Regions from separate parts of the Homo sapiens genome. Here all the other regions are linked to region 4. Evidence: promoter capture Hi-C in 16 types of primary human blood cells and fetal thymus (Javierre and others, 2016). All regions are on one chromosome and are shown on one strand. Each heading gives the region's core, a stretch centred on a gene start or on the middle of the fragment in contact. The rest is flanking DNA. Distances are from core to core; before and after follow the strand shown. Region 1 overlaps OGT (O-linked N-acetylglucosamine (GlcNAc) transferase). Region 2 overlaps EFNB1 (ephrin B1). Region 3 holds the start of YIPF6 (Yip1 domain family member 6). Region 4 holds the start of IGBP1 (immunoglobulin binding protein 1).

What was found. Contacts are between HindIII fragments. The CHiCAGO score rates a contact against its expected background, and 5 or more counts as called.
Region 1: a fragment that was not itself captured here is called in contact with the fragment with the promoter of IGBP1 in region 4 in 1 of 17 cell types (neutrophils); the score reaches 6.0 in neutrophils.
Region 2: a fragment that was not itself captured here is called in contact with the fragment with the promoter of IGBP1 in region 4 in 1 of 17 cell types (total B cells); the score reaches 6.1 in total B cells.
Region 3: a contact is called between a fragment that was not itself captured here and the fragment with the promoter of IGBP1 in region 4, in 1 of 17 cell types (total B cells). The highest score is 6.2, in total B cells.

The regions. Positions count from the first base shown.
Region 1 is chrX:71,544,788-71,548,141 of GRCh38, reverse strand. It overlaps OGT (O-linked N-acetylglucosamine (GlcNAc) transferase), which reads right to left. Exons shown (of 22, transcript NM_181672.3): 5 at 119-235. Among named protein-coding and RNA genes, the nearest start is that of OGT, 13 kb to the right of the region's middle. The HindIII fragment of the contact is 1,255 bases long and covers 1,450-2,704 here.
Region 2 is chrX:68,837,484-68,840,732 of GRCh38, reverse strand. EFNB1 (ephrin B1) reads right to left here. Exons shown (of 5, transcript NM_004429.5): 2 at 1,839-2,116; 3 at 977-1,069; 4 at 645-773; 5 at 1-491. The coding sequence ends at 79. Among named protein-coding and RNA genes, the nearest start is that of EFNB1, 10 kb to the right of the region's middle. The HindIII fragment of the contact is 8,288 bases long and covers 1-3,249 here.
Region 3 is chrX:68,498,012-68,501,033 of GRCh38, reverse strand. It overlaps YIPF6 (Yip1 domain family member 6), which reads right to left and starts at 1,983. Exons shown (of 7, transcript NM_173834.4): 1 at 1,911-1,983. The coding sequence starts at 1,967. RefSeq lists enhancers at 1,865-2,344, 2,143-2,817. The HindIII fragment of the contact is 2,578 bases long and covers 18-2,595 here.
Region 4 is chrX:70,131,812-70,134,858 of GRCh38, reverse strand. IGBP1 (immunoglobulin binding protein 1) reads right to left here and starts at 1,412. Exons shown (of 7, transcript NM_001551.3): 1 at 1,319-1,412; 2 at 724-1,136; 3 at 43-336. The coding sequence starts at 911. RefSeq lists an enhancer at 534-993. The HindIII fragment of the contact is 12,060 bases long and covers 1-2,393 here.

The DNA.
Region 1 (3,354 bases), core at 828-3,327, 1.4 Mb before region 4:
TATACCGCCAGAGAAACAAAGATATAATGTCACTGGCTAAGACCTATTATTTAGTTCTAGTAAAAACACTACATGCGTAAGCACTTCAAAAATACCAATTATTAATTTAATGACTAACCTTTTCAAAGTGATGAATTGCAAGCCAAATTTCCCCTTGTGCATTGAAAACACAGCCAAGATTACTCCAAGCTACTGCAAAGTTCGGTTGCGTCTCAATTGCTTTCAAATAACATGCCTTAGGAGGGGTTAATGAAAGAAGATGGGAGGGAAAGGAGGTAAAGGGAAAGGGGAAAATTTGTAAAGGGAAAAAAAAAAGATTGGGGGGAGGGGGGGAAGAAGGTGATATCATTATTCCTTCTCTGACCAGCCAAAAGTGACCCTGCAGCATAGGCTCGCTTGCGCCAAAACTAATGCGCTGCCACAGCTGGCTGCTCCTGCGCCTGCGCCACCAGAACCCAAGTGCAAACCACCATGTTCAGTTCTGCCAACCAAAGACCAACCCTTACACTGGGACTTAACTGGGAAGTCAGTTGCTATAAGGCTCTATGCTGGAGTTCTCTTATCCAAACAACTACGGGCCCTTGTCATGTTTTCAAGTGCTACCTAGAGGGCGCAACTTGAGGCCGAGTTTTCCTACCCCCACTGTTTCCCAAAGTGTGTTCTATGAGGTGTTAAGAGGTATGGCTGAAAAAAAAAGGAGTTCATGATCAAATAAATTCGGAAAATAGGTTTCTTTACTGGACTTCCCTAAGCCTTTAATAGTGTAACAGGGTTCCCTGAACTTAGTTGACCATGGAACTCTTCTTTCATTGGGCATTTTATTAGAATACTATGAAACACATTTTGGGAAATGCTGCTCTTCAACAATGTTCCTCACTAACATCAAAACTATGCTACTGAGGAGAAAAATGTCTTTCTGCCAAGTAGGATATCATAAAGCCAGGCTTTAAGTTACATTCTCACAATGCCCCGTCTCCCAAGGAGGACTGAAGCTGAAACCTCACATGACAGGATTGCACCTAGGTTGAGGTCCCTGTAATGCGAGCGCAAACATCGCTTGCGCAACCTAACAGCATCGCACTGCGCAATCGCTGCGAACTGCTGCGCTACATAGAACACCCCTAGACGCAGCAAACGGCCAACCAGATCCATTAATCTACTAGACAGGCCCATGGAGAATATTTGTTTAATGAGATTAGTTGGACTCGAGGTATGTTAAAACCCAATTTTATCCAAAAAGGCTACAGAATAGGACTGAGGGAGCCAGTCAATCAGATTACTCATCTAGTCAACCGTTCACAGGGGTTCATTCGCACGCAATGCGCATTAACGCTGCGCAGCCTTTGCGCTACTGCAGGGTCACAGCGCATCATCAGAAGAGCAGAATGCTGCAATCCAAACAAAGAAGAAAAAAGGAAAAAAAATGAACAACAAGAAGAGTTAGAAGCTTTTACTAAGTAAATTATCTCTAATAATTTTTAATATCAATTAACTTTTACTTATCTTTGACAGAATTGTGGCTATAGTATAAAACATTCTCTTACATAACTTGCTTGTAAATAAAATTATTTTAAGCTGTTTCTGAAGCCACAAGACAGAAGATTCAGGCATGGAGGCAAATTGTTTTGCTGTGGCAGTTACAAACCCGTTACCATATTTCTCATCATGTGACTTTTCGGTGCGTTCCTTGCTGGAAGAGGAGGAGGAGGTTGTGTGTCTGCCCTAGATCCAGGCCTCGAGCTCCCTTCAGCGAGGCACCTTACGCATGGAATAGGAGGTTTCACCCACCTGAAACCTTCTAAATACAATATCAATGGTGAAAAACCAAAAACAAGAGAGAAAATAAAAACAAGATCATTAGTAAAAGTTCAACAAAGCAATTGAAATTCTTTGGATGTCTATTACATATGGGAATGAGGACAGTCTCAAGTCTGTAATATGGGAAACATGCAGAAGGGAGAGGGTTAATCAGGGCTATTGCATACAGCAGGGATTTTTGCTGGAAGAAAGGCTCTTCATTTTCTACAAAGACAACTTAATTTTGCTTCCATCTACTAGGAATATGCTGGCTTGAATTTTCAAATGCACTGATTACAAAAGAAATACATTGCATTTCACTCAAGAGTATTTTCTTGTTTACTAAGTTCTCACAAAAAAACAGAATAACATTTTTCAAACTAGGTGTCTCCAGAGCTCTGAAATAAAGAAGTCAGCAACCTAAGGCAGGCGCAATGTCTCAGCCTAAACCGATCTCTAAAGCTGCAGTGAAGTGCAATTCATGTTAGCTGTCCGCTTGGTGGGGTGACAATTAATAGGAGCTTATCAAATATTTGTTCTATAAATTACCAATTAGATTTATCAGCTAAGATTGAAATCAATTACAATTCATTAGCTGGCAACCTACATAAGGTTAATCCAAAATGTCAGCAGAATTTATGAGCTGTGCACTTAAAACTAGTGCCTTTTAAAACATTAGATGGTGCTGAAAAGCCTTCTCCCTCCCTGGATGAAGCAGTCAAACAGACAGCTACTCTGCGCATACACTCCACGCATTAGCATGCGCGTGGGGCTCAGAGCAACAGGTGGGAGTTTCAGAAGCATTCTGGTTTCTCCCCACTCCTCACCCCTGCAGCGCGGTTGCGTAAGGTGGCTTGTAACAAGACAACTGCATTTATAAATTTAATTTTAAATTATACCAAAAGCTTTAATTAACCCAACCTGGTGTTCAAATTCATTATTTGGAAACACAGAATGCTAAAAGCCACCTTTCCACTTTGGCAAGTTTTCTTTCGATCAGTCCATTTCCCAAACAAACCAGCTTTGTCCTTCTGACCTTTTTTTTAAGGGGTTGGGGTGGGGAGGAATAAAAGAAGGAAATGAGGAAGAAAAGAAGGTAGACAACTAGGATTGGAAAAGAGGAAAAAGGAACTTGGGAAGGGAGTGGGGACAAGGGACAGGATGTTCCAATTATTAATTTGTAATCATTTTAACAGCCTTTCTTCCACTGTAAAAAGGGTGAGGAAGATGAAGGGAGGAAGGTTAAATAAGAATTTTAAATGCCAGTATTACAGGGTAACATTTGGATGAAATTCTTCTCCACTTACAAGCCACAAAGGACTTAGAAGAGCAGCATTTTCAATGGCACCTGCATCATATAGGAGTCTTGAGCCAAATCACAGGCGCTCTGCTTGTCACCAGCAGGCAAGCCTCAGATTTGAAGGAATGTTATTTATTCCCACATAAGATCATGACGGAGCCCAGTGTTATAAAGATGGTCTAGCTCAGCAGAAAGGCTCCAAAATGTTCAGGTTCTTGCTTTACCCCCAGATTTAGAACAGATATGCCAAAGCCTGG
Region 2 (3,249 bases), core at 1-2,500, 1.3 Mb after region 4:
GGGAGGGGGTGTGGGGGCGAAAGGAGAGGTCCGGTCCAGGCCGACTGTCCCTCGGGGGCCTGAGGCCGTGCCGGGCACTCAGACCTTGTAGTAGATGTTCGCCGGGCTCTGGGGCGGCATCTCTTGGACGATGTAGACAGGGTGCCCGTAGTCCCCACTCACCTTCTCATAGTGGGGGCAGTAGTTGTTCTCTGTAGTCCGTAAGGGAATGATGATGTCGCTGGGCTCGGTGCCCGCTGTGCCACTGCCCCCCTTGGGACTGGCCAGGGTACTGAGCGAGAGGGCAGCCGCCCGCTGCTGTGTGTGCTTGCGGTGCCGCTTGCGTAGCTTCAGTAGTAGGACCGTCAGGAAGATGATGATGAGCAGGAAGATGACGCAACCGGCACCGACAGCCGCGAACAATGCCACCTTGGAGTTGAAGAAGCCATCAGGGTCCCCGCTGCTGCCCCCACTTGCACCTGGGCCACTCTTCTCTTCCTGGTTCACAGTCTCTGAGGAAGGGAAAGGGGAAGGAACAGTCAGCCAGGGGTCCCAGGGACACACAGCAGATTTCAGGCCAGGCCCAGCTTGCATTTCTTCAGGGACAGGGCCTAACAAGGTGACAGAGCAATGGCTCCTGACCTCTGGGAAACACATACACTTACCATGCTTGCCATCAGAGTCACCCAGGGAGCCCCGACTACCAGGGGCCTGTGTGGCCATCTTGACAGTGTTGTCTGCCTCCTTGCTGGGCCTGCTGGTAGTCAGCTGCTCAGGCGTCACAGCATTGGGATCTAAGAATGGAGACAGAACAGGTGAGAGGCAGGGACCCGGCCAGCATAGGTGCCCTCAGTCATCAAGGGTGGGCCAAGAATGGCCTGGATACTGTAACCCTACGCCTGCTCCCCCACTCCTAATACACATGCACCCAGCCAGGAACATCTGTTCCAAAGGTCAAACAGGGTGGGGTGAGGGGACCCTCAGACTAGGCACTCACCTTGCCCAACCTTCATGATGATCTTCATGGTGCGTGTGCGGCACACACCGCCCTCCCGGTTTTCCAGCCCCTCCAGGCTTCCATTGGATGTTGCTGCAGGAAGAGGCCAGAGAAGTCAGAGAAGTCAGGAGGAGAGAAAGGTCTACTAGCATTACCCAGAAACTCCCATTCTGCTTCAGCCAACAGGGAGAGAAACTGCAGTCGGGAGAAGCAAGCAGCTCCCATCTACCAGTGAACCTTTTCATTTTCTTCCCTCCCACTAGGAACAAAATGGCCTAGTCCAGCCCAGGCCAAGAACAAGCCCCACCCCCAGGGGCACTGCTCCTCTGTCACGAGCAGGCCATGGCCCCTCGGTAAGGTCTGCCTCCTCACTGGGATCATAATGGGGGCTTCTACATAGACTGAAAGGAATTCTGGAGTAGGAATCAGGAGAACTGGGTTGGAGTCCTGACCCTATCTCTAACTCACTGTGTGATCTAAGGCAAGAAGTCCCTTCACCTTTTGGGGCCTTGGTTTCCCCTGAAGAAAAAGGCTGAATAGCTGGCTGATCCCAAAGGGCCTGGCATATGTTACCATTCCCAATATTAGAACTTAGGTGGGCAAAGAAAATAAGAGAGAAGCAACACGAATTGGAGACCTCTCCTGCCCAACCCCTGGAGCCAAGGTGAGCTTGGTAAATGTTGGGGCGAGAATTCCAAGGCCAGGCTAAGAGGAGAACATGCCAGTCTTCAAAGGGGATCAGATCCAGCAGGGTCTTAACTACATGCAATAGCATTGCACCACTTAGAAGCTCCCACTACTACAGGAGAGGAAAGAGTTAAGCCCAGGGAGAGAGCCAGAGGATGGGATGGGCGGGACTCACAGGTAATGTAGTAATCATGGTGCTTCTTGAACTCCAGGCCCATGTAGTTGGGGCTGAACTCCTGGAACTTGATGGTAAAGCGTATTTCCTGCTCTGGCCTATTGCAGGTGACCAACACGTTGGGGTCGAGAACTGTGCTACAGGCAGCTGCCTGCTCAGGCCGCACCAGGTACAGCTTGTAGTACTCATAGGGCCGCCCTGCTTCTGCTCGGGGGCAGATGATGTCCAGCTTGTCTCCAATTTTCGGATAGATCACCAAGCCCTTCCCACTCAGGAACCTGCCCAGAAGGAAGAAGATGGTCAGCCTCAGGGTTGGGGGTGGCCCCAGGCCATTCCAGAACCAGGGAAGCGGACAAGAGCCGGGCTGGGCCTACTGGGTGGAGATGGCAAGAGCAAGCCTTCTGCCCTTCCTCCATCCTCAGGCTGGGGGTGGGGAGAGAGAACCACACTACCAGGAGAGTGTGGAAGGGGTGGCCCATGGGCAAGGCTGCCAGGCTCTGACTGCTCGGCAGGGTGGAGCACTGCCTGGCTGGGGGAGCCCTTTGTCCTAATGTGGCATTTCCGCAGGGGGCTGACGTGGCCAATGGGCTGGGTACCAAGGTGTCAGGCCCATGCTACCTGGAGGTGGCAGTCTTATATACCCCCACCCCCAACAAAGATTCCTTCATGACCGCTGCTACTACCTCTCCTATACCCATACACACGTGCGCGCGCGCGCGCGCACACACACACACACACACACACACACACACACACACACACATACACACACACACAGCAAGCCCACACATGTCTTAGTCACCACTCCCCGCAGCTCCCAGCCAAAGGCTGGGGGAGCTCAATCTGTCTGGGACCCATGTCTTCTCCCCCATCCTTACTAATCTTGGTCATGATGGAAAGATAGGAACAGGCATCGCCTGGAGCAAAGGGATGATGGCCACAGTCTCTGGCCAGGTGCAGCTCTGCTCACTCCCACTGCCTATTGTCCTACTGGCAATTCATCCCACCCTCAAAATGCAAGAGCCTGAATTCCTAAACTTGATTCATCTCATTCTTAAAAAGAACAGAGGAGAAGAGAAGGGGCTCAACCAGAGACAACAGATCATAGAAGATAGGGCCTCATCTGTATCCTAACCTGTCACCTCTATGTTGCTCCTACTCCAGCTCCTGAGAGGAGATGGACAAATGCCTTTTGAGCCAGGTTCATATTCTAATCCAGAAGGCCAGGCACTGGGGGACAGCAGGGAGGGTCAGCAGCCCAGGACCACCTATCCATAGGACTCTGTCCTTGCCTAAGCACACAGAAAGAAAATGGTGCTCCATTGGCCATTTCTGAGACTGGATGGGCTGGTGCTGAGAGCAAGGCAGAACCATGTAGGAGAAAGAACACAGACTTTAGAATCAGATTCCA
Region 3 (3,022 bases), core at 57-2,556, 1.6 Mb after region 4:
GTTAACTGGGGAAAGCTTCACAGAAGAGGGGTGGAGAAGTTTAAATGAAAGAAACTAAAAACTACTAAGCACCTATGACAATGTCACAGTAGGCACAATGTATATATTATCTCATTTAGTACTCTCACTAATTCAGTGATGTGTTCCTATCACCATTTTCCAAAGGAGGAAACTGGGGTTCAGCCTGATTTTACTCAAGGTCACGATAGAACTTAACACAACTCACTCTTATTGCCATATCCCCAGTGCCTAAAGGAGTGCCTGGAACATAGTAGCGGATGCTCAATAAATATTTGTTGAGTGAGTGAAGAGGTGAACAAATGGAGCTAGTAAGCAGCAGAGCTAGGACTAGAATTAAGTTCACTGATCTCCCAGCTCAGTTCACTATGTTAAGTTGCTAATTCAAAACAGAGGAAAGGGGGCCAGGCACGGTGGCTCACACCTGTGTCCCAGCACTTTGGGAGGCCGAGGCGGGCAGATCACCTGACGTCAGGAGTTCGAGACTAGCCTGGCCAACGTGGTGAAAGCCCGTCTCTACAAAAATACAAAAATTAGCTGGACGTAGTGGCAGGCGCCTGTAATCCCAGCTACTCAGGAGGCTGAGGCAGGAGAATCACTTAAACCCCAGAGGTGGAGGTTGCAGTGAGCTGAGATTGTGCCATTGTGCTCCAACCTGGGTGACAAGAGCAAAACTCCGTCTCAAAAAAAGAAAAAGAAAAAAAAAGAGGAAAGGGAAGAACCATTTACTGAGCAACTACTATATAACTAAACACATTGAGAAGAGGGACAGGAGCAGAATATTGACCTCATTATACTCCTCAGTTCATGGTACTGATAGTATTAGACACGTTACATAAATTATGCCATTTGATCTTTCTAAAAACTGTTTTGAGGCAGGTATTTTTATCTCCATTTTACAGATGAAGAAACACCCTCCCTAAAATGACTTGCCGAAACTCACAAAGTGGGTGGATTCCATCCCAAGTAAAGTTTAACTCCAAAGCCTGTGTTCTTAAAATACTTGTCCACACTTTGGGCTTGCAGTGGAAATTCTATCCCTTGCAGAGACAGGAGCAAGAGAGTATAGTGAAGATGGCCGGGCACAGTGGCTCACGCCTGTAATCCCAACACTTTGGAAGGCCGAGGCAGGAGGATAGCTTGAGCCCAGGAATTCGAGACCAGCCTGGGCAACATGGTAAAACCCCGTCTCTACAAAAAAATACTAAAAATTAGCCTGGTGTGGTGACACGCACCTGTGGTCCTAGCTACTAGGGAGGCTGAGGTGGGAGGATCACGTGAGCCTGGGAGGCAGAGGTTGCAGTGAGCAGAGACCGCGCCACTGCCCTCCAGCCTGGGTGACAGAGTGAGACCTTGTCTCGATTTTTAAAAAAGTAAAAAATAAGAAAGGAGAACAAGTATGGTGAAGAGAATGGCAAGGAGCTGCGACAGGGGTTAAACCTGGCCTACTGGGGTCACTGAACAAGTCAATACTAAAGTTATAAGCAACAAAACGTTAATGTCCCACGGGAAGCAATCTCTCATTATTCCTTCAACAAAGGCTGGTGACAGGTTTTGATAAAATGAGGGGACAGCAGAAGAAAAGATAACTTAAGAAATCACCTAAAGTTCGCCATTTAACACAATGTAGGGGACGATGACGAGACCTGGGAGGATGGGAAAGGAAAGATCGGAGTTTCACAAAAAGACCTGGAAGGAACCACGAGGGCAGGGGGCAAAGCGGTTAGCGCAAAGAACAGGTGCAGTGTTGGGACTGGTTCTGGCATCGGGTACAAGAAGGGCCTGCCGGGCGGAAGGAGCTCCGGCTCTCAGGCCACGAGCCCGTCCCCCGACTTCTTTAGGGGGCACTCTGCCTCACCCTCGGTCCCTTTTGTCGCAGATCCCAAGCTCACCAGGGGCCTGGGCGATGCTGTCCCCGGGTCTCCTGGAGACTCCTCCGCTTCCGCCATCTTGGCCCTCCTTCTCCCGGGTCGCTCCCACAGGTCTTTGCGGAACCTGCGACGTGGAGGCCACTGCCGGTCAGCGCGTCATCGCGTGACGGCCGCGTCACCTAATGGCGCCTGGCAATGGCCGGCGGCCCCGGCCCTTCGCTGTCCCTCGGTCCTCGGGGTGTCAGGGACAGCTCCGCGTCGCCTTGTCTCGCTTCTTCGGGGCCACGGGTCCAGCTAGACACGCTTAGCCTTTAACACTCAAGCCGGATTCTCAGACCGCTCCTTCGCTCTCGCGACCACGGCTGCCCTCTCCACCCCACCGACTCCCGCCCATTTCCCGTTCTCAGGAGTTGGCTTGGAGTGCCAGACCCTCGATCACGGCACCTCTAGGAAAGAGCCTGCCTCTCTTCCTTCCCTTCCCCGGCTACCGAGCGACTTCAAGTTTTCGTGCGCCGGAATGACGGGCTCAAGCCCCAACCTCCTGCTCCCTCCGCCGCCGCCCCTGCCCCTCTGACTCTGCGCCTCTCCTGCTGCTCGCAAGCCTCTTCCCACTTCCTTGACTTTTATAAACCTCTCTACTGCCTCCACGCCGACCCTCCAGGATTACTTTTCTCCAGCACCTCTGGCGGTGGGCAGGGAAGAAGCTTCATTGGCCAAACTTGTTAATCCCACTTCAAAAGTTGCTAAACCATTTGGAGCAAGTACTGAAAATGTTCAGGGTCTAAAAGAGAGTAACTATTGTGACAATAACTTAAAAGATAATCTTCATGTCCCAACCTGTTTTCCTTATCTCATCCTTTTGGGCTTTCAAGGTATTTCTGGTCCCAGTTTACGTTGGCCCCAGGCTAAAATGTAGTCAGACAGGGCAGCCATTGTTGACAGCATCAGCATCCAGGATACCTGGGTGCCCTTTGGTGGTGTTAAGCATTTAACCAACAAGGCAGGGGATGGCTGTGAAATAAAAGTGTTTTATATTTTTGGATAGGCAATCCAAGTAGTAAATTTAAGGAGGAAGAATGTGGAATGTGGAGGGACAAAATTCCAAACGAATGGAGGTGTTTTTTTTTTTTTTT
Region 4 (3,047 bases), core at 163-2,662:
CACCGCCATTGGGCAGGCCTCATATTATAGCTATTGACCCACCTCTGTATTTTAGCCTGTCTTTGAGATGCCATAGCAACGAGACTAGGATAAGCCATGGAGGAATTGGCAGTGTGATTTTCAGCAGAGTTGTTCATGGTTTTGGGCAGCTCAAACTCTGCCACATGATAGCAATGGCACTGAGTTAAGTAGTTTATAAAGTGTTCTCGAGCCCGCTGCAAATGATCTAGACGCTTGCTGGGGTTGACTTGTTTCATGGTGAGGGCTCCTTGAAACGCTGGCACCAAAAGGTACTTCAGGTCGGTGGAAGCAATCTCTTCCAAATCTTCATTTCGGCTGGAAGAGCAAAAAGGAGGCAGTGAAGCCTGACTAGGCATTCAAATTGTGGCCCTTGCTTTCTGGGGGACGGAGTGGGAGGCTGGGCTGGGAGTGGACCAGAGGGAGGAGGCACGGGGAACAGCGGCCAGTTTCACTCAATGAAAGTGGCTGAGGGCTCACACCCAATGCCTATGCAATCAGCAGACGCTAGGAAGCAGAGTCGTAAGATATCAACCATCTGGGAAGAGAGGTGGGGAATGTAAACAATGTACACAAGATCGCAGTGGTAAGTAGGAACGAAACGTTCTCACCACTAAAGGTCCCCTCCACTCAGGCGCAATGGCTCCACCCTTGGTAACCATTATTACCTTCGTTCTCAGCCATTATTACTATCTTCCCCCATACCTGAACAAGTCGAGCTGCGATAACATTTCGGCAGCCTTCTCAAGGAGGTCCAAGCCCTTGAACACCTTCTCCTGGACTATCCGGGAACCGGCGGGTTCAGTCGCCACTTCTACTTCGTCCAGTAACTGTCTACCAGTTTCGAACAGCTCGGGGAGCCGCGGCAGCTGTAACTCGTCCTCAGCAGCCATCTTGGGGAGAGAGGAACCCGGAAGATCTCTTTTCCGGGGTCAAAGGCAACCTTGATAAAGAAGAATTAGGCGAGCGCGGACAAAACCGGAAGAAGCACCTCATTGGTCCAGTAGCTTCACTGTTAACAAAGCATCAAAGGACTTCCGGGAGCCGCTGTTAGCCGGCCCTGGCAACCGTTTCCATAGACTCATTTTACCAGGCAGCCCGTTACAAGTCGTAGGCATCTGTTAAAAGCAAACAAACAAGCAAAACCCTAGGCGCTGTTTTACCATGAGCTCCTCGTCGCCGACACGGGGCTGAGAAGTTCTGTGGGCTCTGAAGCCCGGGTGAGGCGAGGCTGAATTCGGAGCGCGAGGAGTGCGGACGAGCGAGTGCGTTTTAGGAGCCAGTCTGGCGCGCCCCTTACCTCGCGAGTAGCTCCCTAGGTTGAGGAGTCCAGGGACTCTAGCCGCCGCACCACTCCCACGGTTTGAAGATCCGGTCGCTTGAGCGCGAAGTGCAAGTAGCGCCCCCCTGCGGTTTCCGTCCACCCACCAGATGGAGCTCCGGGTTCCTCCCAGCCAATCCTCTCCCGTCCTCTTCCCCCTTCACCCCACACACGCCTACGACCCGTAGGCCGGCGTCCGGTGGAGCCCCCCTCAGCAAGATTGGCAACCTGCAACTCCGGTCACCGCACAGCCGGCTTCCCTTCGTGCACTTAGTTCCTACATCAAATGTTATTTCTGTGCAACCTTCCTTGTCTCTCTACCGCCTTCCACCCTGTGCCCTTCAGCCGCCAAGTCTGGGTTTCTCCTATGCATCTCTATCATGGCACCTACCACGCTGTATAATTGCTAGTGACTTACAAATCTCTCTTATCAGAATGAATTTGACTCATCTTTGCACCACTCTGGCTAGCCTGAGTACTCAGTATCAGTCATTATCTGAATAAAAAAAAAAAGTGATCAGTTTGGAAAGCAGCCAACTTATGCAGAACAGCATTGTTCAGTAGGTAGTTACTAGCTACATGTGGTTACTAAGCACTTGAAAGTGGCTATTTTGAATCGAGATGTGCTGCAAGTGTAAAAAACACCCCAGATTTCAAAGACATTTAAAAAAAAAAGAATGAAAAATGTAAATACTTTTTACATGGACTACATGTTGAAATGATAGTCTTTTGGATATGTTGGATTAAATATATTATTAGAATTAATTGTACTTCTTTCTTTTCACTTTGTAAATGTGCCTGCCAGATAATTTAAAACTATATTTGTAGCTCCCATTATATTTCTACTGGACAGAACTGATGGAAAACATAATTTCAGGACTTCAAAGAAGGGACGTCATTGTTTTGAACAAAGCAATATAAATACATACTGATTACCTTAGGACGCAGCCTGAATTGTCCTAGGAGATTTAAGTAGCAGGCACACTGTCTACCCCTGAAAATAAACTTTTAAACTAGTATTTTAAACTACATATCGTTGAGAAGAAAAAAAGCTTCATTAAAAAACAACTAGAGGGCAATATAGGACAGTATAAAATAGGTGATATGTTGTATTGCACAGGCTGTTGGAAAAGCAAGAAAGGGCAAGTCATCCCATGCTAGGAGTAGTTCAGAAGGCTTCTTAGACATGACATGCGGTCACATAGAAGAATGTCAAAGTTTAAAGGGAACCCCCAAAATCGGAGGAAAAACTTGAGACCAGAAAGGTTAAGGGACTTGTCCAGCCAGTTTGTGACAAAGTCAGTGACTTCTGCGTTCAATTGTTTCTACTCCATTAACCTTCAGTTGGGTAGGATTTAGAAAGATGAAGACCTTTAATGTGGGACAGATTGAAGCCCCAAACTAGAACAGTGCTTCCTAAGAGGGAGAGGAGGCTGTGGCACACATGTAGGTTGAAAAAGCTTCCCAGGTGATTCTAATAAACCTTCCCTTGCAACCCCTGCTTTATAAACTAAGAAGGAAGTGAGGCTTTGGCGAATTACCTATTTGGTTTATCTGGCACCTCTAGTAAACTGACCTTTCAGGGTCAGGCTTGGCAGGGAATATAAAGAAAAAGATAGTACTTGTGGAGGAGACTTAGAAATGTAGTAATTGTGAGAGTAAAGATAATTTGCTTCTCTGCATTTGCTTGGATTAAAACATGTCTTTA